Regions from separate parts of the Homo sapiens genome. Here all the other regions are linked to region 1. The links are contacts of gene promoters, found by promoter capture Hi-C in blood cells and fetal thymus (Javierre and others, 2016). All regions are on one chromosome and are shown on one strand. Each heading gives the region's core, a stretch centred on a gene start or on the middle of the fragment in contact. The rest is flanking DNA. Distances are from core to core; before and after follow the strand shown.

The links. The method cuts DNA at HindIII sites, captures the fragments that hold promoters and counts their contacts. A CHiCAGO score of 5 or more calls a contact.
Region 2: a contact is called between a fragment that was not itself captured here and the fragment with the promoter of JAK2 in region 1, in 1 of 17 cell types (naive B cells). The highest score is 5.3, in naive B cells.
Region 3: a fragment that was not itself captured here is called in contact with the fragment with the promoter of JAK2 in region 1 in 8 of 17 cell types (M2 macrophages, monocytes, M0 macrophages and 5 more); the score reaches 8.6 in M2 macrophages.
Region 4: a contact is called between a fragment that was not itself captured here and the fragment with the promoter of JAK2 in region 1, in 8 of 17 cell types (neutrophils, erythroblasts, M1 macrophages and 5 more). The highest score is 15.2, in neutrophils.
Region 5: a contact is called between a fragment that was not itself captured here and the fragment with the promoter of JAK2 in region 1, in 2 of 17 cell types (M0 macrophages and neutrophils). The highest score is 5.3, in M0 macrophages.
Region 6: a fragment that was not itself captured here is called in contact with the fragment with the promoter of JAK2 in region 1 in 2 of 17 cell types (M2 macrophages and M0 macrophages); the score reaches 5.9 in M2 macrophages.

What each region holds. Positions count from the first base shown.
Region 1 is chr9:4,982,527-4,987,397 of GRCh38, forward strand. It overlaps JAK2 (Janus kinase 2), which reads left to right and starts at 2,746. Exons shown (of 25, transcript NM_004972.4): 1 at 2,746-3,104; 2 at 3,414-3,496. RefSeq lists silencers at 699-828, 2,279-2,328, 2,369-2,448, 2,839-3,168 and enhancers at 1,797-2,630, 2,559-2,698, 3,499-3,548. The HindIII fragment of the contact is 8,817 bases long and covers 1-3,914 here.
Region 2 is chr9:5,827,908-5,832,778 of GRCh38, forward strand. It overlaps ERMP1 (endoplasmic reticulum metallopeptidase 1), which reads right to left. Exons shown (of 15, transcript NM_024896.3): 1 at 4,783-4,871; 2 at 2,820-3,121. Among named protein-coding and RNA genes, the nearest start is that of ERMP1, 2.8 kb to the right of the region's middle. RefSeq lists a silencer at 4,777-4,871. The HindIII fragment of the contact is 813 bases long and covers 3,216-4,028 here.
Region 3 is chr9:5,615,150-5,620,020 of GRCh38, forward strand. All of the region lies in intron 1 of INCR1 (interferon stimulated noncoding RNA 1), which reads right to left. Among named protein-coding and RNA genes, the nearest start is that of RIC1, 12 kb to the right of the region's middle. The HindIII fragment of the contact is 9,723 bases long and covers 1-4,871 here.
Region 4 is chr9:5,595,804-5,600,674 of GRCh38, forward strand. The region is part of intron 1 of INCR1 (interferon stimulated noncoding RNA 1); the gene reads right to left. Among named protein-coding and RNA genes, the nearest start is that of RIC1, 31 kb to the right of the region's middle. The HindIII fragment of the contact is 9,312 bases long and covers 1-4,871 here.
Region 5 is chr9:5,576,467-5,581,337 of GRCh38, forward strand. All of the region lies in intron 1 of INCR1 (interferon stimulated noncoding RNA 1), which reads right to left. Among named protein-coding and RNA genes, the nearest start is that of RIC1, 50 kb to the right of the region's middle. The HindIII fragment of the contact is 7,807 bases long and covers 1-4,871 here.
Region 6 is chr9:5,559,861-5,564,731 of GRCh38, forward strand. PDCD1LG2 (programmed cell death 1 ligand 2) reads left to right here. Exons shown (of 7, transcript NM_025239.4): 6 at 3,302-3,351. The region is part of intron 1 of INCR1 (interferon stimulated noncoding RNA 1); the gene reads right to left. Among named protein-coding and RNA genes, the nearest start is that of PDCD1LG2, 52 kb to the left of the region's middle. RefSeq lists a silencer at 3,304-3,403. The HindIII fragment of the contact is 3,406 bases long and covers 448-3,853 here.

The DNA.
Region 1 (4,871 bases), core at 1,496-3,995:
CCATGCTGGCCAACACTGGAAGGACAAAACCTCAAGACACTACACACAGCCCCACAGTCAACAACTAGCTGTTAAGTTTTCCCATTAGATCTTGCCACAAAGTTTTGAATCTAAATGTGTTACCTTACAGCTCATATTTCTTGTTTCTTCATATTGTATGAATGTTTTGAAAGACTTGGTCAAATTCCTTGGAATTCTTTTCATCATTATCAAAGAATAAGGGAAATTTCCTGAAATGTTTGCCTTGAGTAGCAAATTTCTAGTGATGCCACTACCAGGAATCACATAAAGAGCTCAAAAGTTCTGTTAATACAGAGTGAAAAAAGCTCAACATTCCAGGTTAGCATTGACTTAAAATCATGTCTTAGTGATGAGGGAGGCTTTCACTTTCTGAATGACAGGAGGCAAGTTGCTTCATCTTTCTATGTGGGGAGACAGAAGATTTCTCAATTCTATAGGCTTATGAATAATATACCCCTTGTCCACCTTGTCTTCCATACCCACATCTCTAATATTAAGAAAATAACCTGCTCCCCCACAAAAATATCCTCAATATTCACCACTTCCAAATGGCTTCTCCCTGCAATTCACCAATTTCAAATGGCTTCTCCCTGCAAACAGGCTGTGGACAGTAAGAGATACCATGCCTAGTTACATAAGTATATCACTGCAAAATATAGAAACATCACTTATAATGAAAGTAATACTGTTTCAGAGTTCTAAAACAAGCATTTTCTTCCCCTCACAAAATATCACATTTCCATTTCCACAGTTGTGATGCTTTTCATTTACCCATGACGTTAAGCTCATCTTTAGCTCTTCTTCATTATGTGGGTCTGTGTTCTAGCTTTTACCTCAGTAGCAGTTTTTGTTTGCAGGAAAAAAGGAACTCTTTTGGTAGTCACTGTTTGTAATTGCGGCCTTGATATTCTAAGCCATTGAGTCACAATTAATAATTAGAAATTCTTACTAACTTTGCCCATATATTACCTATGAAGCAGTAGCCGTAGGAATGCAATTTTCCTGTAAATCCCTCCCTCTTATACAGCTCTAGTTCATTATTTAAAAGATTCAGGGTGAATTCAAGTAATTTCCTATGCTGCTATCATTTGCTTAAAGACCTTTTGCAATGGGTCTTATGTAAGAAGAAATGCAGGAGTTGCTTTGGTGAGGTTTATTTAAAGAAACCATTAAGTGCAAGACAGACCTGAAGAGCAGCATCAGTTGTGTATGGGGAAACAGGAGCTATGAATGCGTCACTTCATTTAGGTTGACAGAAAGAGGGCTAATACTTGAAAAAAATCCCTACACGATCTGGTGCCAGGCTACTTCTTTGGCCTCACCTCTTACCACTGCCCCCTCCTTCCGTGTCCTCCAGCCACAGTGACCTCTTTCCTGATCCTTGAACTTGCCAAACACTTTCCCTTCTCAAGGTCTTTGCCTTCAGGAGTCCCTCTGCCTGAAATTCTTTTCCCAGATAGTCATGGGACTGGTTCATTCTCATCCTTCAGATCTCTGCTCAAATGTCACTTATTCTAGGAAATCGTTCCTGGCCACCGTAAAATAGCACACCCCCTCCTCACTTTCTACTCCTTTTCTTTGTTATTATGTATATGGCAGCAGAAAACTATGCATTTTCTTAGTGGCAATTACACACCCCGCACATTATGCATTTAAAGCGTTGTTTGTTGTTTTGTCGCTTCCATCAGAATACAATCCAGTAGGGCAAGGAGTGTGTGGGGTCGTGTTCACCTGGTATCTCTGGGGACCTACAGCCCGGCACCTAGTAGACACTCAGTAAATATTTGAATGAATGAATGAGGCCCTTTGGCAGCCGGGAAGCCCGTCACAGCCGTTGTCTCCACCCTCTCCCGGGCTACACCAGGCCACGCCGGTAAAGTTGTTTCTCCTCTAGGAGAAACATTCGCTAGGCCTTGTTGCCAACCCGCAGGCGGCTGGGCGCTTCATCCCACCCTCACCCCTTTCCAGCCAAGGTGGCTGATGGGAGTCAGGCTCTCGAGGGCGCATTGCCACGAAACAGCGTGTGTGAGCGCGTTGTCCCCGGCCCCCGGCGCCACTTCCCCTCGGCCTAGCAGCCTGGACTGGGGAAGGACGGGTCTGCTGTACCCGGGAGGTGGAAGGAAAAGCCGAAAGCGGAGAAGTGTGCGGGAGGGGAGTCTCCGCGCGGAGGCAGCCCGGCCTCCTCCAGTGCAGGCTGCGCGCTGGGGAGCCAGCCAGGGTGAGTCACTCCCGGCCGCTTCCCTGGAGGGCGGCGGCCACACACACACCCGCCCATCTAGTGAGGGCCGGGCCCAGCGCTGGCGCCTAGCTCCAGCCGGGCACCAGCGTTTCGCGAGGCGCCGCCGCCTTAACTTCCTTGCGCGCTCACGCCCAGGGGCCGTCCCAGGAATCTCCACGCGCGCTCGCCGGCTTCCCGAGAGGCAGCTGCCCTGCGTGGCCCGCGCCTGCCGGTCCCGCGACCAGCACCGAGCGGCGCACGCGCACTGCAGGACGCGCGTCCGGCTCTCCCCCAGCCTCTATCCGGCCCGGTCTCCTGCCATTCGGGGAGACTGCAGGCCAACCGGGAGGCTGAGTTCGAAGCTAGCAGGGCGGCGAAGCCAGTGTCGCCCGCGGCGTTGAGAAGACGGTGTGGCCCCGGAGAGGGTGGAGACAACTGTGACGGGCTTCCCGGCTGCCCGAAGTGGGAGTGGTGTGGGGCTGCAGGAAGGAGAGAGGAAGAGGAGCAGAAGGGGGCAGCAGCGGACGCCGCTAACGGCCTCCCTCGGCGCTGACAGGCTGGGCCGGCGCCCGGCTCGCTTGGGTGTTCGCGTCGCCACTTCGGCTTCTCGGCCGGTCGGGCCCCTCGGCCCGGGCTTGCGGCGCGCGTCGGGGCTGAGGGCTGCTGCGGCGCAGGGAGAGGCCTGGTCCTCGCTGCCGAGGGATGTGAGTGGGAGCTGAGCCCACACTGGAGGGCCCCCGAGGGCCCAGCCTGGAGGTCGTTCAGAGCCGTGCCCGTCCCGGGGCTTCGCAGACCTTGACCCGCCGGGTAGGAGCCGCCCCTGCGGGCTCGAGGGCGCGCTCTGGTCGCCCGATCTGTGTAGCCGGTGGGTGTTATCTCTGCCTGGCTTCTGGGTGGGGGGCAGCAGCTGTCTCTCCACCCCCTTCCTACCTTTTGGTCCCGCCTGCCCCCTGCTAGTGGCAGCAAACTTCTGAGCCAGAAAAATCTTCCTCTTTAAGACGACACCTAGAACGAGTCTTGCTGGTGATATTTGCTTCCATTTGTGTCTTATAATTCCCTCGCTCCCGCCTCCTTATTCCTTTTTAAAATTTTCTAGACACTTAAACAGCCTAGAAAAAGCATTTGTTTCCCCTGGATTTATGTGGTAGTAGTTAACTGCTGCTTCTGTTTTTAGGTTTCAGAAGCAGGCAACAGGAACAAGATGTGAACTGTTTCTCTTCTGCAGAAAAAGAGGCTCTTCCTCCTCCTCCCGCGACGGTGGGTGTGCTGTCCTTTATCGCTGCAGTAAAGGCGAAGGTGTCTGGAGCTGGGAGTGCGTGCGTAGGGAAGGTTGGAAGCGTGTGAAGAGAGGCAGGGCTCATTGTTGCTTACTCTTCTGAAAATGTCAGTGCTAAACTTTTAATGTTGATCTGGGAGAGTAATTTTGGGGTGTTTTGTTGTTCGTCTTGGATCCTTTAAGAAACATTTTTTTGTTGGCTTTACACATAACGTGACTTTGCAGAGAAACGAAAAACGTTGTCCATTACCCTTTCTTCTTAAGCAGCCAGAGATTCTTAATCCTTTAAAGAGGAGTATTTCCAAGCAATAAGAGATAGCTTTTGGGAGAACACGTTAGCTATTCTTGCTGGGGTTTCTGCTACCACATTGAATGTTTCCTCATGGTTTTATCTGCCTAAGCTTGCTGTGTCGGTTGAATTTACCCAGTTTGTTTTCCAGTAATTACTAATCTGTTAGGAGAAACTCCATTTCTCTGAATGAAAGGGTAGGAGCGGCTGAGTATGGAGAAGGAAACTGGAAGTGGGAATAAGGGAAATGATTGCTTTTGGTTTCATAATAAGTTTGTACAGTGAGTTGTTGGGCTACTGCAAATAAAGATTTTGTATCCCTTCTCCAGAATGCTTGGGACCAAAAGTGTTTTGGATTTTTTTTAAAAATTTTGGAATGTTTGCATATACAAAATCAGACATCTTGAGGATGGGACCCAAGTGTAAATACGAAATTCGTTTGTTTCATATAGACCTTATTCACACAGCCACTAAGTCATTTGCAATATTTTTAATACGTCTGTGCATGAAACAAAGTTTGTATTAAGTACCTATGCGGGGAATTTTCCCCTTGTAGCATCATGTTGGTGCTCAAAATGTTTCAGATTTTGCAGCTTTTCAGATAAGGGATGATCAGCTTGTATTTTGATATAACACCCAGAACATTTGAAGATGAATAATCAATTTTTGGCCTCCCTTCCCCCATCCGCCTCACCTTATACCACTTTAAGTGTGAGAATTATTTGCTTGTACATGCATTTGTCTGTTGGTGTGTAACGTATGTACAGACTGGATGTATCCAGCACTTGCCTTAATAGTACATGTATTTACCTGAATAGGAAAGCTGCAGTACTTGCTGGCCAGAAGAGCACACCATGCTTGTTTTTGCTCTAACTGAATATCCTGTATTTGCAATTTATAGCAGTTTTAGGGACTCATTAGGGAATTTTGTGTGTGTGTGCCTTTGGTGATTTGAGACAGGTGTCTCAGATATGGGAAGGGAATATGACATTGTTTCTCTTTCACCTGGCTATTACTGAAAGGTGGGATGCTTTTGAGGCAGAATAGGAAAGTGCATTGGCTTTGGA
Region 2 (4,871 bases), core at 2,372-4,871, 850 kb after region 1:
GCAGAGCTTGCAGTGAGCCGAGATCGCGCCACTGCACTCTAGCCTGGGCGACAGAGTGAGACTCCGCCTCATAAATAAATGAATAAGTGAATGAATGAATGAATGTACGTTCTAGGCCAGGCACAGTGGTTCCCACCTGTAATCCCAGCACTTTGGGAGGATGAGGTAGAATAATCACTTAAGGAGTTCAAGACCAGCCTGGGCAACAAAGTGAGAACCTGTCTCTATTATTTAAAACATAATAATAAAAAGTGGGTTCTAATGGCTCACAAAAATGCTGGCCTTTAATTATTAGACTCCACATATACAATCTGTAACATTTGGCACTATGTTTGTAAAGAGTAACTGAATATGCACTCCAAAATATGTCACTTTGACATACGGATTATTTTGAGCTGAAGGCAACTGAGAAGCAGGTACTATACAAAAAAGCTCTCTGCCCTCCCCTTGTTTGCCTAAAAGCAGGGTATACATTTACCAAGGTGTCCCCACTTCCCCTTTCCACCAGGAAGTACAAAGGTTGATCAAGAAAGACAACTTTAAACTTTTGGTGGCCTGGCAACAGCACAAAAGGAATCTATATAACACTTTACTAACTAACCTTTCTCTACCATTTATTTGCCTTCCTTCAATTTGCCACCCCTCGAGACTCAAGGTCCTTTTCCTTTGTCACTTCTCTAAAAATGTATTGTTTGGTTGAAGATGCTACATAAGCCAGATTTCTAAGCCACCTCTTTGAGATGTACTCATTTTCCTTGAGTATCTCCCATGTACATGAAGTGCATGTGTTAATAAACTTCTATTTGGTTTTTCTCTTTTTAACCTGTCTTTTGTTACAGGGGTCCACTCAGCTAAGAACTATGAAGGGTAGAGGGGAAACTTTTTTCTTTTGTCCCTACATTTGCTGCTAATTCTTGTATATACAGCCTTCTTATATAATGTTCTTAAGCAACCATGGTGTTTATTTGCCGCTTCCCAGAATTTAAGCATCATAATAGTGGGCAAAGAGTGACATTTATTACTGCTTTGAAATGGACATAAAAAAACCACTGGTGGCCGGGCACAGTGGCTCACACCTATAATCTCAGAAATTTGGGAGACTGAGGTAGGCGGATCACTTGAGGTCAGGAGTTCAAGACCAGCCTGGCCAACATGGTGAAACCCTGTCGCTGCCAAAAATACAAAAAAAATCAGCCGAGTGTGGTGGCACAGTAGGAGAATCGCTTAAACCCGGGAGGCAGAGGATGCAGTGAGCCAAGATTGTGCCACTGCATGCCAGCCTGGTGACAGAGTGAGACTTGGCCCCCCAGCCAAAAAAAAAAAAAAAAAAACACTAAACCACTGGTTACCCCAGCAGCACACGAAGGTACTTCTGGCTTATTTAACAAACGTGTGTATACTGATTTTTGAAAATGCAAGTTACATTCTAAACGCAATTGTCAAGCTTTCTAAATGAAGATATTCTAATATGAATCATTTTATCAAGCAAATAAATTTTACTTACATTTTGTATAACTCTAGACGTTCAAATTTGGCCTGCTATAAGTTCGAGTAATCCAGAAGTGTTAATATTACATAAGAGTTAATAAAAACTTTTAAAAATCACTTTCCATGCCAGGTACTATTTTAGCGTTTTACTTATTTTTAATCCTCCAAGCAACACTATTAGGAAAGTACTATTATTTTCTCCATTACACAGATGAGAAACTAAGAAGTTAAGCAATTTGCAAAAGGGAGTATTAATTACACCCTAATATTCTTTTTCCTTTCAAATGTAGCTGAAAGAACTGACTGGCCAGGAAATCCAGCATCTTATCCTAGTTTTGTCTCTGATCAGCGATGACCAGCTAGCTAAATGTACTCCTGTATCAAATGAGGGGTTCAGCCAGATGCCATCTCAGGTCTTGTCTACCACTAAAATGCTATGCCATTGTAAATGCTATTTTCCATCCCTATTTACAATCCCTTTAACCACTGAATACAATTTTCTGAAAAATAAATATTTTAATAAATGGAAGTTCAATTTAGGGGATTCCCATTCATTTGACAAATATATACTGCATCAGGCACTGTCCTAAATGCAAGTATTCTATTTTGCCAAATGATTTTCAGAGAAAGATTTACACATTAATTAGGTACTTTAACAGTATGGCACCCTCAGTGGAGCAAAATTCTCACTTTATAGGTCAACAGAATCTGCTAGAAGAGATATCCGCCAACCCGCAGCCCAGGACAGCTTTGAATGCAGCCCAATACAAATTTGTAAACTTTCTTAAAACATGAGTTTTTTTTTTTAAGCTCATCAGCCATCATTAGTGTATATTATGTGTGGCCCATGACAATTCTTCTTCTTCCAATGTGGCCCAGGGCAGCCAAAAGATTGGACACCCCTGCTCTAAAACCATGCAGTAACCCTTGAAGGCAGGGACTGTCCTTATGTGGTATCCCCAAAGCCTAGTATAACACCCAGCTGAGTAAAACACTTTCTAAGTGTCAGAACCTAACTCCAGGACACTAGGACACACACACTGTCTGGTAACATTGAGAAAGCTGCTTCAGTCTACCAGAAACATTCCAAGTCTTATCACTGGGCTGCTGGCATTAACACCAAAAAATAATATTAATAAAGCACTTAAGAGAAGACAGAATGGTTAGATCCTAAACTAAATGATACTATCCTAATTATCCTGCTTTCCATCACAAAGAAAAAAGGTTTGCCCAAGAAAATGGTCCCCACAATTGCCCAAGTAGCTTGGGGTTATGTTAATAAACTTTCTGGGCTGTGACAAGTTCCAAATGACTAAAAAACAGGTACATACCTGGTGAGTTTGCTACTGAGTCAAAATGACAATTAGCCAAGACAGCATGCTGGGCTCCATCTCTGGGTTCCAGCTTTACCACAACATTGGTGATGTTGTCATAATAGCTTGTAAAACCTCCCAAGAAATCAATGCTAAAAGAGCCTGTGGGCCGTTGTACATCTACTGAAATCTTATGAAGGCTGTTGCTTTGCACTTCAATCAGTTTAATCTGTTCCAAAAGGTAGTGCACGGTCAGAATTTCATTTTCTGGACTTCCTGTAGTCCTGGGGCCAATGGAGGTTATGTGTTCAAGATAATCCCTGGAAGTAACCAAAAGAATAACAAAGGTTTGTAGTTAAAATTGACACTTAGCGTGGGTAACTTTTCCACTACACACCCCTTCCTCCCCAAAAAAGCTTAGTTCTTTGCCTTATATAAAAGGGACCGCCTTTCATTATTTCAGACACCAAGTGAACATCACTTATAAAGTTCCATATTTTTATTGTTGCCTCCCACGAGTTGACCCCTTCAGTTTTCTCCACCATCCCACTCCCAACTTCTCCCCATATCAAACCAATACAAGGACTAGGGATGTATTCAAAACGTGTGACCACTGGCCAGGCACGGTGGCTCACGCCTGTAATCCCAGGACTTTCGGAGGCTGAGGTGGGTGGATTGCTTGAGCTCAGGAGTTTGAGACCAGCCTGGGCAACATGGTGAAACCCCATCTCTTCTAAAACTACAAAAACTAGCCAGATGTAGACTACTATCCGCCTGTAGTCCCAGCTACTCAAGAGGCTGAGGTGGGAGGACTGCTTGAACCTGGGAGGTGGAGGCTACAGACCCGAGATGGAGCCACTGCACTCCAGCCTGGGCGACAGAGCCAGGCCCTGTCTCAGAAAACAAACAAAAAAAGCTAAAGACTAAGCAGGATAGAATATAACTTCACTGTGCATACTCCTGAACGTTACAGATTCTGGGTTAATGACTTTAAGTAGCAGAAACCAATGAGCAAAAATAATCAAGTCAAGAGGTTAAATAAGGCGGGCGGGGGAAACTTTTGATGGACCTAGCCCTCCTAGCATACACCCAAGGTCTAATAACTTCAATTCAGGCCAAAACCAACTGTACCCCTAATGAAAACAAAACTGTTTTTGTCTTTTCACTGCATTCCAAGTGGGGAAAGCTGGAAGTGGGGGTGGGAGACGTTTCAGAAAGTCCTTAATAAGCTTGCAACACTTTGCATTCTAGCAAAAACTTTTTAGAACACAGTAGCTGTTGAAAACTTGACGCCAGCTTAACACTTCATGAGCTTTGACACACCTGGGTTACAATATCTTTGACTTAATCACCTTTCCTAGCATTCTTAAAGGTCTTAAAAAAAAAAAAAAAAGTCAAACCTTACACAGTCACTAATCCAAGGGGCCTAAAGATAAACTGCAGGGATCTGAGAATTTATCAGACTGCATACCAAATTTTGACTGGGCGGTGTTCCAGAAAGAGTTTCTATAGCCTTCAGATGTGGGGGCTGTAACCCTCAGAAAGTTAGAACAGTGCACTAGCGCCTTCCAAAACTCCCCGCCCCCAAAGCGAATTTATACAACAGTCTAGGTACACAAATTTCCATCTGGAAAGCAGAAGGGCTAAGCAAGGTAAAAAGGGGAAGCTGTTCCAGAATATGGGGAGACGACTCACAACCAACCATCTGCACGAAGGGCAGACAGTGGAAAGCAGGTTCAATCTACCTGGCAACCCCAATCTGCACCACGAGCTTAACCGGGGACAGGCAAGCCCCAAGTCCCGGCAATTCAGACCCCAGAAGAAGGACAAGCAAGGTCACCCCACCCCACGTGCAGCCTGGGAGGGGTCAGCGAGTCCCAGCGGTCCGGCAGGGGCGGGTGCACACAGGTGCGGTGCCCCGGAGCCTGCGCAGGAGCCGCAAACGGACGCGCGGGCCGTGCCAGGAGGGAGCGGCCGGTACCTGGCTTGGAGCGCGTCGAACTCCCCGCGGTGTCCAGCGGCCCCGCGTAGCACGAGCTGCTGCAGCGAGAGCTGCACCAGCGTCCGCAG
Region 3 (4,871 bases), core at 664-3,163, 630 kb after region 1:
TGGCAGCATAAGCTAAGAAAACAATCAACTCCTAGGAAACTGTGGAGGACAGTAAGAGCCTGTAGCGCATTACAATGGGCATCCTGAGAAAGTGACCAGGGTACAGGGAGATTCTGCCTTTGGTGTATTATATATTAAATGATGTGGATGGATTAATGTTGTTAAAATATGGAGACTTCTTCCCCCGCCCTTACTCTTCAGCCCCAGTCCCTCCCCTCCTCACCCCCTTCAAAAAAGAAAGAAAAAAGAAAAAGAAAGAAAGAAAATGGTGTTAAAATATGATCCTATTGTTAAATGTTAACTCTTTGATTCATTTATAGCCTTCAACATCATACCTGGGTGATGTGATTCCTTCTTCCCTCTCTTACTTTTACATCCATGGATGTATGCCACAGAAAGATCTACAGCACTGTTTATTTTCAAGAATTCACATGACCCTTTAGATAAATTATTGTTTTCATTTTTGCCTAAGATACACAAGATATTATTCTCCAAGTAAATGTGAAAATACTGATTTCCTTCATTTCTTTAGCAAAGTAATTTTATACATGAAGGATTGAGTAAAAACAAATACCTTAGGAGTTAAAAAAAATGTAGTTAATAAGACAGCCTGACATAAATTATTATATACATTTAGTTGGTGAGAAAATAAGTTTGTGGAAAGAGATGGTATAGTGAAGTTGATAAACTTGGGGATTCTGGGTTCAAGTTTTGACTCCATCACTTTCCAGCTCTGTGAGCCTTGAGCTTCTCTAAGCCCCAATTTCCTCATCTGTAAAATGGGGATAATATGTATCTCATGTGATTGTTGAGAGGATAAAAATTAAATAATGTAAAATGCTTAGAGCAGTATCTAGTACATAAGTGCAGAATAAATGCTAGTTACTGTTATAATTTATGTAACAGTACCAATCATTAGACACAAAGTTCTTTGTGACTAATCCACAATATACCACTAAAGGCACAGATTAATGCCAGTGCCTGGTTTCTAGCACTTAAAAAAATAACAACCTGGTATGACAGATATTAACATTTCCACCTGCAGGTAAAAAAACGGTTAAAGGTAACTTAGGGCTAGCAGGGCAATATGAAGGTGATCAGCAGGGGCCAGGTGGTCAGGTTTAACTTGCCCATAATTGCTATTGAATGACCCAAGGTCACTTCCACTACTTGGTCTTATCTGGTTTTCACAGCACAATTTTTACATCCTTAGACAGCTCTCTCATTAGGAAATCAAGAAAATTCAGATCTGCTGGAGAAGGGATCATGGCCATATCTCCCAGGAATCCAGTGCACTTTTTGACTTGTTTACAAACTAACAGAAGGTTGAGTACAGAGATTCCAGACCATATTCAAAGTACACACCGGACACTTTTTTTTCCTCCTAAAGAAATGTCAACCTTATTAATATGCATGAGACTCATAGTGGATATTTGTTAAAAATGCTAATTCTTGGGCCATACCATCAACATCAAGGACTCCGGATTCAGAAAGCCTGGGACTTGGCCAAGGAATCTGTATTTTAAATATATCTCTAGACAATTCTGATCCAGATGACTGGACCACACTTTGGGAAAACTGATCTCCTTGATAACAAATTAACAATTTTAAAAATAGTACTTATTATTTTTTGATGATAAAAGAAAAATTAGAAAGTGCTCAGAACAGAAAAAATTAATAATTATATTTTCAGGAGATGATGACTGCAAATATAGCTGTCCTAATTTTTTTAAATAAAAGACAATAAAGGAAATAATGTATTTTGGGGGGCATTTGGTAGCCATTTTTCCATATCTCTTTTCAAGTTCTTACATTCAAGTGTATTGGTTGTTCAGTTTCACAGGTATATTCCTTTTATACCAACTCTTAATGGCTTTTATAAATGATTTCTATGTTTGAAATATATATAAATTTACTCTATGAAATCCACTTATATTCTTGTTGGGTCAGGAGATTGGACTGGATGTGTTTAAGGCCCATTCTGACTAAGATGTCATACTTGTAAGATTGTTATAACTCTTTTAAGTATAAGGAATAACCCCATTCAAACTTGACAGATAATTTAAAATTATATCCCCCAAAAGTTAAAGATTTCCTCTTGGGGTTTGACCTTTTATGCAGATCTCCTGATGTGACAGTATATCAAAGGTAGTAACATTTCTCCAAAGGTGATACACAAATGGCCAACAAGTATATGAAAAAATGCTCAACATCACTAATCATCAGAGAAATGCAAACCAAAACCACACCCATTAGGATAGCTATCATTTAAAAGCAAAAACAAAAACAAAGCCTGAATATAACAAGTGTTAGCAAGGATATGGAAAAATTGGAACCCATGTGCACTGTTGGTGGGATTGTAAAATGGTGCAACCACTATGGAAAAGAGTATGGAGGTCCCTAAAAAATTTGAAAAGTAGAAGTACCATATGATTCAGCAATCCCACTTCTGCGTATATATCCAAAAGAATTGAAAGTAGGGTCTCTAAAAGATATTTGCACACCCATGTTCGTAACATCACTATTTACAATAGCCAAGATTTACAACAGCCAAGTTGTGGAAGCAACTCAAATGTCCATGGACGGATGAATGGATTAACAAAATGTGCTATATACATGCAATGAAATGTTATTCAGTCTTAACAAGGAAAGATATCCTGTCACATGCTACAACACTGATAGACCTTCAGGGCATTATGCTAAGTGAAACAGGCCAAGCACAAAAAGACAAATACTGTATGATTCTACTCATATGTGATATCTGAAGTAGTCAAATTCACAGAAACAGAAAGCAGAATGATGGTTATTAGGGTCTGGGGAAAAGGAGGAAAGGGAAGTTGATGTTTCATGGGTATAGAGTTTCAGTTCTGCTAGATGAAAAAAGTCTGTCATGATTGGGTAATGAATTTGACTCTAAGTTCACTGATACATACAGGAGATAATGGACTGACACAATGAATATGAAATTTTGGCTAAATTATTGAAGGCATATTTGTCTGAATAGAGAGTAGGGTGGGAATCTCAGAATTATAGGGTTAAAAATGTCTTGTTCCAACTCCTCTTGCCATTTTAGTAAAGAATACACACTGAAAATGCAGGTATGACTTTTTTTTTTTATACTAGAGAACTGATAGGGACATGGTCAAACACAATTGTTACTGTTGGCTAATTTATGTAGAATCAATTCTGTTTCCAATCAGTTTTCATTTCTAAAAAGACTAAAGTGAAGAGCAAACATAACGACCCTTCCCATTTTGCTTGGTTAGCAATAGTAGGCTGTTTGGCTTTATTTTCCAGTTTGTGCTAATGCTCCAGCCCAGAAAGTCTCACTCAGATCCATTAAGGCTTAACAATAAGCCATCCTGCCTTTAAGGTTAATTAAATGATTTGAACTAATATTTAACACTATGAACTGTGAGGAGAATTGTGGACAAAGTAGACTGGTTAGTCACATATGACCAGTTACTGACATGTTCTTTTCAATTTAAATGTTTACATTTTTTATTAATATTATTTAAAATGTCAACCACATACCAAAGTGGAGCAGATAACACAGTGAACTCCCAAGTACAGTCACACACTGCCTAATGACAAGGATATGTTCTGAGAAATGCATTGTTAGACAATTTTGTCACCCTGTGAACAAAGAGTCTACACCAAACTAGATGTTGTAGTCTGCTACATACCTAGACAATATAACATATTGCTGCTAGGTTACATACCTGTACAGCATGTTACTGTACTGAATACTATAGGCAATTATAACACAATAAGTATTTGCATATCTAAACACAGAAAAGTTACAGTAAAAATACGGTATAAAAGATTTAAAAAAAAATGATACACCCATACAAGGCACTTACTATGAATGGAGCTTGCAGGACTGGAAGTTGCTCTGGGTGTCACTGGATGAGTGGTGAGTGAATATGAAGGCCCAGAACATTCCTATACACCACTGTAGACTTTATAAACACTGTACACTTAGGCAATAAATTTATTTACAAATTTTTCTTTCTTCAATAATAAATTAACCTTTGCTTACTGTAATTTTTTACTTTATAAACTTTAGTTTTTTAAACTTTTAAACTCTTGTAATAACAGCTTAAAACACAAATATGTTGTGCAACTGTATAAAAACTATTTTCTTTCTTTATATTCTTATTCTATAAGCTCTTATCCATTTTTATTTTATTATTTATTTGAGTTGGAGTCTCGCTGTGTTGCCCAGGCTGGAGTGCAATGGCGCTATCTCGGCTCACCACAACCTCCGCCTCCTGGGTTCAAGCAATTCTCCTGCCTCAGCCTCCCAAGTAGCTGGGATTACAGGCGCCCACCACCACGCCTGGCTAATTTTTGTATTTTTAGTAGAGACAGGGTTTCACCATGTTGGCCAGGCTGGTCTCAAACTCCTGACCTCGTGATCCACCTGCCTCAGCCTCCCAAAGTGCTGGGATTACAGGCGTGAGCCACCAAGCGTGGCCCATTTTTATTTTTATTTTTTCTCAGACACAGTCTCACTCTGTCGCCTAGGCTGTAGTGTAGTGGTGGGATCCAGCTCATTACAACCTCTACCTCCCAGGTTCAAGAGATTCTCGTGCCTCAGCCTCCTGAGTAGCTGGGATTACAGGTGCACACCACCACACCCGGCTAATTTTTGTATTTTTTAAATTTTTTGTAGAGATAGGGTTTCGCTATGTTGGCCAGGCTGGTCTCGAACTCCTGGCCTCAAGTGATCCGCCCACCTTGGCCTCCCAAAATGCTGGGATTACAGCCATGAGCTACCACGCCCGGCCTATTGTTAAAAAATTTAATTTTTAAAAACTTTTAAAACATTTTTGTTAAAAACTAAGACACAACTACGTAAGCCTAGG
Region 4 (4,871 bases), core at 1,428-3,927, 610 kb after region 1:
TGAAGTTTGATTTAAATATCTAAGTTTGAGTCAATATGTGTGCCTTGGCATGTAAAAATAACAGCAACAACAACAAACACTTTTTGTAAAGTTCTTACCATGTGTCAGGCACTATTCTATGTGCTTTATAAATACTAACTTATTTAATCTTTATAACATAATCCTCCTATGAGCTAGATACCATTATTGTCCCCAGTTTACATATAAGGCACAGAGAGTAATTTGCCCGAAGTCACAGAGCTTGTAAGTAGCAAAGCCAGGCTAAGAGCACAGCAGTCTGTCTCCAGAGTCCATACCTCTAATACACATGACTGTCTCATCCAGCAATCTATTTCTCCAGTTGAAAAATTACATTGATTCCTCCTACTCACCCTCCTCCCTCAAAATACCTACTTCTGTAATTAAATGCCACATCAATAAAGCATATTCTCTAACAACCCCCTTAGGTCCATGGAAGAAGCTGGCTATTTGCCAATGAAGCCTTGTTCACTCCCCATCTGGAAAGGCCTGGTGGCAAGTAAGATTCATGTTACTCAAGGGAGGAAGGGGAGTTTTCCTGTTCATTTAGCATAAAGAGTCTCTTAAGTCAAAAAATTTCCTTCCTCCTCTTTCCAGTGTCACCAGTCACACGTGAGAAAGTCATCTCGGTATCAACTTCACATGATCTGCCTCAAACAAAGACAGTTCATGTGCTCTTGATATAGCATTTCTTGCTTCAACTTCACTGCTAACTGCATGTTTCATCTACAGGGAGAGTTTACAGAAATTAGCATGAATTATATAAACTCTGATACTTGGTGATGTAGATAGATCTCATCAGCTTTCATTTTCTTTGCTGGGAGTGTAATCAACATGATTAAAGCAAAGAAAGAAACTCTCAAGTCATTGTATTAACTATTCTGTTCTCTGGATGAGACAACATAAAACCTTGGGATAGTAGAGCTGGAACAGAAATCCAACATCATCCCCCACATTTCACAGATAAGGAAACAGAGTCCCAGAGGGAATTTGTGATGTACATGATAACACAACTAATTTGTGACTTTAAAAAAACTCCTTTTTGGTTTATTTTTAAGAAAAAGAATAGAAATTAACTAACCATATAGAAATAGCTTATGGAATAAGGTTCATGTGGAGCCACCATTTTTTATTGTCTTACACAGAGGTAACTGCAATTATTACACCCCACCACACTCACCCAGTGGCAGGCCAACTAGGGCCCTAGGGCTTACACAGCCCCATGAAAAGGGAGGAGGGCCTGGTCTTTGGTCCCTCAGGTCATTGGGCTGGTCCTTTGGAATTTGGTAGGCCCTACTGCCCTTGGCAGACTGCAGAGATGCTCCCACAAAGTTCTCTCTTTTGACCACAGGTCCTCCACAAGGAATTCTTGCCACTGCTTTGGGGGCCAGAGCACTCAGGCCAGGCCACCACAGACATCTACCTATGCCTCTCCCACTGCAAGTGTCATAGTCTTTGGAAAACTATGCAAAAGTGTGATAACATCCCAAAGCCTTATAGAACCTACTGCAAACCTGTTCCCCCAAGTCCCTATCCAGGACAGTCTCAGGCATTCTCCTTTCCGTTAGGGTCAGGCCACTTCCTTTCGTCTTCTCCTCCAAACTCCAGTTCTTACCATCACAGAGACTTTCTAAAGCAAAGGTTGTAATGCATTTCTGAGACTAGGAAGCCCTCACCACCCAGACATAAAGCCTGAGCTAATAATCTCTCTGTTTCAGGGAGAGACTATAGCAGAAAACAGAGATTCCTGTTATCCTGAACCAATTATTTGTATAACTGTATGTTTAATACCTGATTCTCTTTGGAGTAAAAATTTCATGAATTGAGTATTAGGATTACGTTAAGGTTGCAGTTGGCTTTAGGATCCCTCTGTCTTATTCACTTTTGCATCCCTGTGCCAGTTCAAGGCCTGATAAATAACAGCCACTCAATACATATTTGCAGAGCAAAGAGAGAAAGAGAGGGAGGGGAGGGAGAGAGAGTGGGAAAGACTAACCAAAGTTCTGCAATGGCCCACAGAAATATGAGTATGAGTTAAGGCAATCTCAAAGGAGATAGAGAAAAAGGGATGGGAATGAAGATGAAAACTATTAAGAATTAATAATCTACAGGGCTTGATAAGAAATTTGATGTGGATGATGTGGAAGAGACCAGTCAAGGATAATTCTGAGATGTGTTAATTGATCCACCTGAATGTGATGTGGGCTTGTGAGAGGAAGATGGGGTTTGGTTTTGTTGGTAAAGGATGGTGAATGGTGGAGGGGTTATGGACAATGAATCCAGTTCAGGAAATATTTGTGGGTCTCACTGTTTTAAGTATATGTGAACAGGAATATCAGAATGAAACTGTGAAGTGGGTGAAGTTATCTTCAGAAACTCCCTTTCATTTAGGCCCCATTTCACATATCAAGGGATATCACATATCCCTAATTATCTGCCCTAATTTCCTATCAAGAAGTGATCTGATGATCTCACTTACATAAAAGGTAAACTACTGATGAAATAGGAGATAGCTCTCAGGCTGTGTTTTAATGTTAATAATGGAGCACAGCCACAAGCCAAAAGAATGATAAGAGCACTACTAATAAGAGTCAGTGCTTATATGGCCCTTAACATGTGGCAGGCACTTAATGCCCTTAGCAACACCATGAGGAACTATTTTATATATGAGGAAAGTGAGGCACTGAAAGGTTGTGACTTGTCCAATGTCAACAGCTAATAAGTAATGGAGTGGAAAATACAACCTAGCATTGTGGCTATACAATCCATGCTTTTAACCATGATGCTAGGAAATAAATGTGTAAGGGTGAAAATTTTAAGAAGAGTGGAAATGTGCAGTAAATTTTGTGGGGGTCCCTCAGCAAGATTCAGATCACTCCAGTCTCATAATGAAGACTATACAGGTCACTCAAGTCTCACTCTACTAACTGAGTGTTAGTAGTGTTACTAATGACATAGACTCTGCCAATGACTGACTTTAGACAACTTAATCTCTTTCTGTTTCATTTTCCTCATACATAAAATAAGGAGAAATAACCTACATACAAGGTTATTCCTTAAAGCAACATTTGTAAAAGTAAGTGACTGGAAACAACCTAAATGTCTGTTGATAGAAGGCTGGCTAAAAATTGTGCACCTATAAAATGGAATATAATGCAGCCATAAAAAGTAATAAGATTAAATTATTTCAAACAAAAGAACAGCCTGAAAAAATCAAGTTGCAGGCATAGATAAGGGAAGTTGCTCAAGAGATAAGGGGGCTTGACTAAGACATCCCCTCAGCTGCATAGATAAGAAAGACTATACAGGAGACTTGCCCAGACATACCTGCAATGGAAAATTCTGTCCCCTGACACATGTGCAGTAAGGGAAACGAAGCAACATGGAGTAATTCAAGCTAAGAGCCCACATCCACACTAGGAAGATGGGGTGGAATTACCAGAAATGCACACCTTATGCAAATGATATGACCAGCCCCCTATCCGTTTCTTATAAAAGCCTCCGTATCCAAACTGTGAATTGGCAACCTATCTTTCCAGGATCCCTCTCTGTAGCAGAGAGCTATTCTCATTCTTTCACCTATTAAATTTCTGCTCTAAACCCGAAAAAAAAAAGGTAATAAGAAAGACCCCTACATACTGCTATAGAATGATCTCTAGGATATACTATTATGTGGGATAAAAAACAACTACAGTGCAGAACAGGACATATAATATACTACAATTTGCACAAGAAAGGATAAATGGACTAGATATATTCCTTTATGCTCATATTGCATAAATACAGGAAACTTCTAAAATTGGTTGCTTCAAGAGGAGAACTGAATTGGCGTGGGACAGAGAAGTGAGGAAGGAGAACGTACCAGTTAGGATCTCAGCAGGAAATATATGGCATATTCAAAAGGCGTCATCGAGGAGTTGAGTGACAGAATTATTTACAAAGTTGTGGACAGGGCTAAGGCACCCAACAAAGGATGCTGACACTTTCCAATGGGCAACCTACAGAGGGGAATCATTATCATACCTAAGTCCTAAGGATGAAGAAGGGGAGTAAGTGGTTACTTGAATCCAGAGAGAGAGAGCTATAGGTATAAAAGGGGCTACGGGACAGAAGCCATAGCTCTTTCCTAGATGAAGTCAGCCACTGTTCATCCATAGCCCAGCAGGGAAGGCACTGGGGGAATAAATAGCCTCACCACATTCTCCTTCTGCACTTGGATCTCTGGACATCCTTAGGGATGAGCCTCTTGGGGCTCAAGGCAGAGTGGAGAGTAGATCTGAAGGCATACAGAGAGAATATCCACTGCACAGACTGTACAGCATTTTTACTTTGTAAACTTAGAACTATATAAATATGTAACTTATTTGAAAAGTAGAAAATGGCGGGGCCCAGTGGCTCAAAGTGCTAGCTTGTAATCCTAGCACATTGGGAAGCCGAGGCGGGCTGATCATCTGAGGTCAGGAGTACAAGACAAACACGGTGAAACCTCATCTCTACTAAAGATACAAAATAGCCAGGGCGGGTGGCAGGCGCCTGTAATTCCAGTTACTCGGGAGGCTGAGGCAGAAGAATCGCGTGAACCTGGGAGGCGGAGGTTGCAGGGAGCCGAGATGGCGCCATTGCACTCCAGCCCGAGCAACAAAAGCTAAACTCCGGAAAAAAAAAAAAGAAAGAAAGGAAAAGAAAAGACAAGAAAAGAGAAGAGAAGAAGAAAATTTTGCACACACAAAAGATAAATTAAAAAGTAAAACGGAAATGAGGGACCAGAGCGTATGCTTTCCAAGTCTCCTCCCTCTTCAAATTCTACCTCTGTTTCGTTGGAGCTGCAGTTTTTCACCTAATCACAGTCCATG
Region 5 (4,871 bases), core at 1,095-3,594, 590 kb after region 1:
GTGTGTGTGTGTGACGGAGTTTCACTCTTGTTGCCCAGGCTGGAGTGCAATGGCACAATCTCAGCTCACTGCAACCTCCGCCTCCCGGGTTCAAGCGATTCTCCTGCCTCAGCCTCCTGAGTAGCTAGGATTACAGGCATGTGCCACCATACAAAAATAATTTTGTATTTTTAGTAGAGGCGGGGTTTCTCCATGTTGGTCAGGCTGGTCTTGAACTCCCAACCTTGGGTGATCCACCCACCTCAGCCTCCCAAAGTGCTGGGATTTCAAGCATGAGCCACCACGCCCGGCCCACATCTATTTAATTCTTAGAGCCAACCACCACCAAAGATTATTCCTGCTGGTAAAAAATGCTGATCGCTACTCTGGGATCTCATCATCTACATTGAGATCAGGCAGATTTTCCCACCACATCCTTGGCCTATAGAAAGCAGCTGCCTGAACATGTTCAAGGGTGCTGGGGCTTCTCCCATTAAAGCATTTTTCAATGCTTTAGAGAAGAAACTATTCCTTAGGCTCTTTCAGGACCAAGTGTGGTGAGGGAAGAGGCACAGTTACATATAATAAATCACTCCTTTATTTCTATCTCCTTAGAGATTCTAATGGCTTAGGCCATTAGAATCCTTCCTATACATTATTCCAGAGAAATTCTGGCAACTCAACACCATTAAATGTAACCTACCAGTGAGTCCAAATTTCAGCCAATCAACTAAGCAAATAGTGCCATTCACAGCTGCTCTAGCTAATACATTTGTTTCAGCTAGCTTTTGTTGTATAACAAACTATCCAAAACTTAGTGACTTAAAACAACTGTTTATGTTTTTATGATTTTATAGGATAACAATTTGGGCTGGGCTCAGTGGAGGCAACTCATTTGTGCTCTACGTGGTGTCAGTGGGATCATTCATGCATTTGCAGTCAGTTGGCAGTTTGGCTGCCAGATGGCTGGTCTCAGATGGCTTCATTCATATCTTCCTATTGGTGCTGGCTGTTGGTAAAACCACGTATCTTCAGTAGGTTAGTCCAGGCATCTTCAACATAGAGTCTAATCCAAAAACAGCAAAAAAGAAAGAAAACCCCAATGTGCAAGTGCTTTCCAAGTCTCTGTTTGTATCACATTTGCTAATAATGTTCCATTATCCAAAGCAAGCACATAACCATGCCAAAAATCAATGTGTAAAGGAATTACATGAAGGCGTGATACCACTACTGTAATCATCTACAACATTAAGTCCAAAACTATCTGGAAAGTGTAGTATATCAGGACTACCTTAATTTGGCCCCAGTTCAATGTTATCTTCTGTGCTCCTGGGTCTAATACCTTTAGAATTCATCCCCATACATACTAGCCTGGTTTCCTCTAATGTTAAGTTAACAAAATCTTATGATTCTTTTGAAGTATAAGACTTTTCCTGCTGAGCTAGACTCTGCTCTTCCCACCTCCGTATATTCCGGGAACTGACTCTAAATAAAGGCCATGAGAGTTGGGAGCACTGGGGCTGAGAAAGAATAGGGATCTCCCTTGCAAGGCAAGTGCCTCATATGGGCTTATTACAGGCTTTCAAACAAGGAAAGGCTAATATCATTAGACAAGAAATGAGAGGCTTCTTCCACTATCAAGGGAAACTCAGGGATGCTTGGGGGTTTCAACATTCTCAGTTTCATCCAAATCCACCAAAATGTCCCCATTCCTAGTCTCAGAGTCCTACTCCTTTCAAATTACTGAGAAAACTTTCACATATGAGACTTAGCCAGTCTGTGAATGATTGATTTGGGTTGAATTTTTCAGTCATGTCTTTCATGTCTAGTGATTCCTGTAATTAGAAGGAATAAGAGGTACTTTCAGGGCAGTCTTAGAAGCCCTCTGGTGCTCTGAATATGATTTGAGGTGAAAGCCCTAAACTTGTTAGTTTCTTCCTGTAAGCACCCTGGTGCAATCAGAAGCAGCCATCCCACATTACATTCCTTATAATCATCTTTACTACCATAATGGTTAAATGCAACAGCTACTTGGCCTCCAGAAACTTGCCTTTCATTGGTATTCAACCCTAGCAAGAACAGATGATAATTTAATCAACCATGATGTCAATGCATGCCATAGATTACTAGTGGCAAAGAGTTCAGCTCTCAATTCAAACCAATCCAACACTAACAACAAATCAAATCAATCCCAGAATGTCAGAATTTGAGAATCTGTTTCCTATGACCACACCTAGTATCAAGTGCTAGTATCAGCCAGAGTCCAGTCATAAAAATAGAGTGTATTTAATATTAGGAACTTGTAATAAAGATATAAGAAGACTGAAAGAGCAAAAAAGTGGATGCCAAATATTAGAACTACAGACAGCAGCTACCTTTCTACTACCTATTGCTACAGGCATGACACATTCAGGAACTAGAAACAGGAAATAATTCCCCCTCCCACCTTCCAGTCCCCAAGGCCTTCCCATTTACTGAACTTAACAGGAAGCTAGCTGGCAAGGGAGGCTGGCAAATGAAGTTTGTCAAAATTCCAGCCCTGGCACATCAGAGCAGAGGAGAGGAGGATGGACTTAGAGTTGAGAACAGGAGGTACATAACCAACTCACTCCTCAATCAAAATCTATCTGGATGAAGTGGAGACATATCCATTAAGAGATAAAAAATAAAGAGACTATAAATTCCAATTAGATTGTAGCACAAGGAATTGTCTTAAACTCTGTGGCATCTGACCCTGTAACAAGGGCCCAATGTATATTTGTTGATTGGTTTTATGAGAAAAATAAAAATTGGGCATCTGCTTTGACCATGAGCATAGGACAAAATAAACTTATTTATTTATTTATTTATTTATTTATTTATTTATTTATTTATTTATTTTTGAGACGGAGTCTCACTCTGTCGCCCAGGCTGGAGTGCAGTGGCAAGATCTCGGCTCACTACTAGCTCCGCCTCCCAGGTTCATGCCATTCTCCCGCCTCAGCCTCCCAAGTAGCTAGGACTACAGGTGTGCGCCGCCATGCCCGGCTAATTTTTTGTATTTTTAGTAGAGACGGGGTTTCACCGTGTTAGCCAGGATGGTCTCAATCTCCTGACCTCGTGATCTGCCCACCTCAGCCTCCCAAAGTGCTGGGATTACAGGCGTGAGCCACCGCACCCGGGCCTTTAAGTACATTTTGTAGAAGTTGTATCAAAATTCATTGGCTGCAAATGAGAGAAAACCTGATGCAAACTGGCTTAAATTTTTAAAAGATAATGTGTTGGCTTATGTAACTGAGCAGCCAAATGTGCAACTGGGTATAGGGGGTCTAACAAATGTCTTCAGGATTCAAATTGTCTCTATCATTTCTTCACTCTGTTTCCTTTTTGTTGATGCCATTCTCAGACAAGATATCTCCTCATAATTACAAGATGGATGCCAATGATTATTAAACCTTTCAGATTCAAATATTTTACAAGAAAAAAAAGCCAGAGTATTTTTCTCAGCATTCTCAGCAAAATCCTGAGATTTACAGTGGAAAACTTATGTGCTGTGCCCTCTCCAGAACCAGTCACTGAAAGAAAGAGTATGTAAGTGATATCTTACATCTGGAGCTCCACCCAGACCACATGAACTGAAAGTGGAGAGTGAATCAAAGTGACATCTTTTGTGCTAAGATGTTGCAATTGCCCAAATGCATCTGTGGACTTCTACTAGAAGGTATAGCAGAAGGTGTTAGGTGTCTATTATAAGAAAAATATCACTATCATATAACACCCCTGGGGGACATATTTCTAAATTTCAGACAAAATATATTTTCAGTGCGTTGTCTTTCCTGATAATGTATTTACAGCCTGTCATGGGATATGTCTGTTTTAAAGTGCTGGGCAGGGTTTGGACTACATGTTCCTCCTTGTGCTGGGTTTGAAACATTAGATTGCCAATGTCTCATTGCTGGTATCCAAAATGAGGTTTAATTAAGTTTGCCATTATAGCTAATCTCCATACCATGCACCAGACATTGCTCTAATAGCTTCACATGTATGATCTCATTTAAACTTCATAACTTAGTGTATTGTCTTGTCTATTTTACACGTGTATTAGTCCGTTCTTGCATTGCTATAAAGAACTACCTAAGACTGGGTAATTTATAAAGAAAAGAGATTTTATTGACTCACAGTTCCACAGGCTATACAGGAAGCAAGGCTGGGGAAGCCTCAGGAAACTTACAATCATGGCAGAAGGTGCAGGAGAAGCAGGCAGGTCTTACATGGCCTGAGAAAGGAAGAGGGAGAGCAGGGGGAGGTGCTACACACTTTTAAACAACCAGATCTCATAAGAACTCACTCATTATCATGAGAACAGAAAAGGGAAATTCCACTCCCATGATCCAATCACCTCCCACCAGGCCCCTCCTCCAACACTGGGCATCACAATTCGACATGAGATTTGGGCGGGGACACAAATCCAAACCGTATCAACATGTAAGCAAACTAAGGCCCAGTGAAGTTAGATAAATTGCTCACATCACACAGCTAGTAAGTGGCAAAGCTAGATCTTAAGATTTTGCAAGCCAGACATGACATCAGGCCAAATATCCTACACCTGTACCAGTCAAGCCTTCATTATATAGTATTTTATAATTACATATGTGTTCAGTTTTCTCCAACAGCCTTTGAGGTATTAGGAGGAGGACCTGGTATTTTATTCATTTTTATAGTCCCAGAACCCAGTACAAGGATTCGCACATAGAAGATACTTAACAATTATCATGGAATTGAATTGAAAGCAGTGTGCATGGAGTCGAGGCAAGAGAGGCCAATATGGAAAAATATTTAGTGAATCTCCAGCATGTCCAATGGAGAAGGGTCTCTGTCCATCCAGCCCACATGTTCCTACCACCTGTCAGATC
Region 6 (4,871 bases), core at 901-3,400, 580 kb after region 1:
ACCATCACCTTCATTGTCTAAAGCTCTAACCACACAGGATTTTCTAGTCCTCAGAGGCATGGCAGTCTTTCAATTCCGAGTTTTCTCATACAATATTGTCTCTTCTTAAAATATTTTTTCTTGTTGTCCACCTGAGTTGGAGTCATCTTTTAAATCTCAGCTAAGCTTATACTTCATCAAGTCTTTCCTAATTCTACCTCCACGCACCACACCCATTACATTAAATCCCCTTATTATATGTTTCCATAGCACCTACTTCTTCTTTCAGTATACTCAGCACACAATCACATGTCTAGGATCTGTTTTAATAGCTTGGACTACCAATTAAATTGCATCCCTTTTAATTTTCCAATTGATTCCTCAAGTACCCACATGCCCATCTTAGCAAGAAGTTCAGTGTCTCCCTCTTATAGCATGTACTTCTCCACCTCCCACAAACTGCCAGAAAGCTTACTTAGCCCACAGGGCCAGTGCTAGGCAGCTAGGTTAGTCCTCCAGAGGGCCCTGGTTTTGAGCAGTTGCTGTCTACTCCGGCCATGCAGAATCTCTGGTCCTTCCAGATGTCTCCATCCACTGTGCAAAGGTAACCTTGCTGGTTCCGATCCCCACACAGACCACAGTGCTACAAGATTACAGTTCTTATGGTTCCCCAACACATGCTCTGTCATTGGTCCCAAAGCAGGACCCCTATGGGTTGATGAGGTAGGAGGAGGTCCCTGCCTTAGCCACAGCTGCACACAGCCAGCCTCTTCCCTTCTAGGCCCTCATGTTGAGCCTGGGACGCCAGTCCTAACTTCCTTCTCTTCAGTTCCTCTTAGGGCCATTGGTATCCTGAATTTCTTAGTCCATTGCAAAGTTAAGTAAAGAAGCAGCAGGCTTGGTCCCTTTCCTTCCAGATGGCTTCTTAGCTCCTGAACAGATTTACCCACCTATACCTCAGTGACTAGCTCTGTGTACTAAAGTGTATTGGGAGGGCAGCCATTATTGGTCCATAAAAGGTCCTGCTTACCATTTTCCCCTAAGAGGAACCATTCAACAGTTTGGGGCTCGAGGGTGACCTGCTGGGCTCTAGAGAAGAAGCTGGCAACTTCTGTTGCAAAATAATGTTAAATTCTGCTTCATCTGCTTGTCTTTACGTTTCAAGAATACAGTAACTGTGTTTCTCTGATTCACCAATATATGCCCAGTGTCTAAAAAATTACCTGGCATATAATAAATGTTCAATGAAATTTTAAACATTGAACCTACTATATGCAGGTGAGTATGCTAGATCTGCTCTGTCCAATATAATAGCCATCTGTGGCTCTTTTTAAGTTAAATAAAAATTCATCAGTCACATCTTAAGTATTCACACACTGTAAGTGCTCAATAGCCATGTACAGATAATTGCTCCTGTATTGGACAGTACAGATATACAACATTTCCATCATTGCAGAAAGTTCTACTGAAAACCACTGTGCTAGACCCTTTACAAACTTCTCATTTAATTTCACAAAAATTGCTTGTGGCAAGGAGAAGTGTCTTTATGCTGGAGTTAAGAAAGTGAGGCTCAGAAAAGTTATATGACTTCCCAAAGTCATACAGCTGGGATTTGAATACAGGTCTGTTTGACTCCAAAACTTGTGGCCTATTTGTTGCAAAAGTGCTTAATACAAATTGGTTCAGTCAATATTATTATCTTTGAACAATGGAAGGAGAAAGTAAGTTTCAATCCAAAATAATTGAGTGACTTATACATTGACTTGCTGAGCCAATGGCAAAGTCAAGTTAGAATCCAGCAGAAGTCACCAGCTACAGAATCTAGATCTTTAGAACATGTCTTCAGATCTTCAGAACAGTGTTTCTTAAACTCTCTTGTGAAGGAACAGTTATCATCATAGGCTGGTAACAGTTCACCTACCAGCACCAGCCCATGAACCAGACTCTAAGTGGCACAGCCCTAGAAGATTGAGCCAGAATTTTACAGAGGTTTAAAGACCAAATATGCTGGTTTATGGTTACCTGTGGCCCACAGAGAATGGCAGCACTAACCTCAGGCATAAATGAGGTACCCACTGAAGCCAACATTCAAGAGCAATTCCTATGGGTTAACCATTGGGCTCCTTTCAAATGCAAACCCTCATGAAAGAGACTACAGTGCTGAATAGAGACCTCCAAATTCCAGGCCAAGCTCAGGATAGTCATGAGGGAATTACTAAAAACCTGGTATATAGGGCAAAAGCAGAATTAGGAATGGACTGATTTCAGGAACCCAGGCAATGGCAGGAGTTGGGCATTAAATCCTAAAAGAGAATCAGAGTGGGAGGGAATATGTGAAATCAGAGGTTAAGAAAAAAGTGAAAACCTATTCATGATTGCAAAGATATGAAACCAACCTAAGATCCCATTGACGAATAAGTGGATAAAGAAAATGTGGTATATATACACCATGGAATACTACTCAGCCATGAAAAAGAATGAGATAATGTGTTTTGCAACAACTTGGATGGAACTGGAGGTCATTATTCCAAGTGAAGTAACTCAGGAATGGAAAACCAAATACCATATATTCTCACTTGTAAGTGGGAGCTAAGCTATGGATATGCAAAGGCATACAGAGTGGTATAATGGGCATGGGAGACTCAGAAGGAGAGAGTAGGGAGTGGCAGTGAGGAATAAAAAAGCTGCATATTGAGTTCAATGTACACTATTTGGGTGACGGGTGCACTAAAATTCAGACTTCACCAGTATACAATTCATCCATGTAACCAAAAACCACCTGTACCCCTAAACCTATTGATATAAAAAAAAAATTAAAAGAAAGATGTGAAATCAAGGAAACTTACTGGTGAGCAGCATCCCATTATGTGAACTTGTGCTTCTGAACCAGTAACTTGAGTTACTTTGAGCCAGTATCAGTCACTTATACCTTAGTGCAAAATTAATTGATCAGACATTCTGACCTGGACCAGGGAAGGCAGGCAGAAGTAGCAGTCAAGACTAAAGCAGAAAAGGGAGAGCTAATTCTGCAGCCAGACATTTCCTGGATTGAATACCCAAATTAGTCCCTCAGCCTTTAAGTGCCTGAGGGCCAGGAGTAGACAGAGGAATGGAAAGTGTGAGACTTCTTTGTTCACACTCTTTGCCTAGGGGCCAGATTTTGCTTTATGCATTACCATCCGAAGTCCCAGGCCACAGTGAACATTTGGGCTTCGCTATGTGGATTTATTTAGATTTACTTTTTGTCCTGCCATATTTTAATCTATAAGCCAAACAGTTTTCTCATTAATCTTATTCCATTTCTGGAATTTTTCCTTTTCAGACACAACAAAAAGACCTGTCACCACAACAAAGAGGGAAGTGAACAGTGCTGTGAGTAAGCATGATTTTTACTTTTCTTTCTTACTTTCTTTTCTCTCTCAGCTTGAATTTTAAAGTAACCACTGTTCTATTAATTCATGGAAGGCAACTGAATAGTTCCAGCTTATAGAATCTTCCTGTTTGGTAGCATTTCAGCGAAGCCTCGTTCTTAGCCCCAGAACAATCATGCCATCTTTTGCTCGGTCTATATTCCTAAGCACTCCTAGATGATACTGCACTGGACCTCTGGTCTCACATAGTTAGAAACAGAGTTAAAATCGAACAGCAAAGAGAAGATATTCAACTGCGATGCAATTGACAATGGATGTTTTTGCAACAAACAATGATTAAGAAGTACATTGTTGTGGGCTCTGAGTCAAGAGTAATATGGGAAAAACACAAGTCTCTTCATGAGGTTGACAGGTTTGGAGCTGGAATCTGTGGAGGAGGAAGGATATGATCTAGGGGTCAGAAGAAGTGGGTTACTAAAATCATTAAGCCTGGTTGGATGAAAAGCTTAGACTCAGGGGAAGCAGCACATGATTGTGGGGGCTGGCAAGTTTGAAATGTGTAGGGCAGGCCAGCAGTCTGGAAACCCAGGCAGGATTTCTACCTTACAGTCTTGAGGCAGAATTCCATCTTTTCTGGGAAACCTCAGTTTTTTGCTCTTAAGGCCCTCAACTGATTGAATGAAGCCAACCTACATCATGGGAGATAATCAGCTTTACTTCAAGTTAACTGATAGCAAATGATAATTACATCTACAAAATACTTTCACAGCAACATATAGACTAGCATTTGACTAAGCAACTGAGCACCATAGCCAAGATGACACATAAAATTAATCATCACAGGCACCAAGAGATGAGGGGGGCAGTCTTGGCCATATATTTGGCTGAAGTAAGTCAATTTGTCATTCCTGCATGAGCCTTTATAAACAGAAGTAAGTAACCAACTACTATTTGGTCATTGGAGTTGTCCAAGAGGCCAGGGTTCTGTCTAATACCTGTTCATGCATGAACATGCCAACCTAGATTGCATGCAGACTACCAGTTTTGGGTTTTTGTTTAGTTCAGCAGGATTTTTCTCAGCTCACTGCCTCTCAAACTTTCAGCAACAAAAGGACATCTGTGATATCAGAATCTACCACTCTAAGTATTTGGATGCAATAGCAATGAATATCTGAGTAAATCTAGGTGGGGAGTGGGGGCACCCTGTAGCCAAAATGATTTAACAAAATCAAACCAAAATTTTGGAAATGATGCCTTGGTACAATGAAGAGACTACTTGAGGTAGGTTTGACTTATCTAATATCTTATTTTCTTTACCAATACCTAATGAGGAATTTAAATATTTCTAGATAGCTTTGGAAAGGTCCCTTAAAGAGGCACCAGCATACCACTGCCAGATCTAATCCCCCCAAACACTGTTTTCATCATCATCATGTCATCTCTTGTCTCTATAGATCATATCAAATCCTTCCCAGAGTTTTTCAGGCCTTTTGACAACTAGCCACATTTCACTAAGCCAAC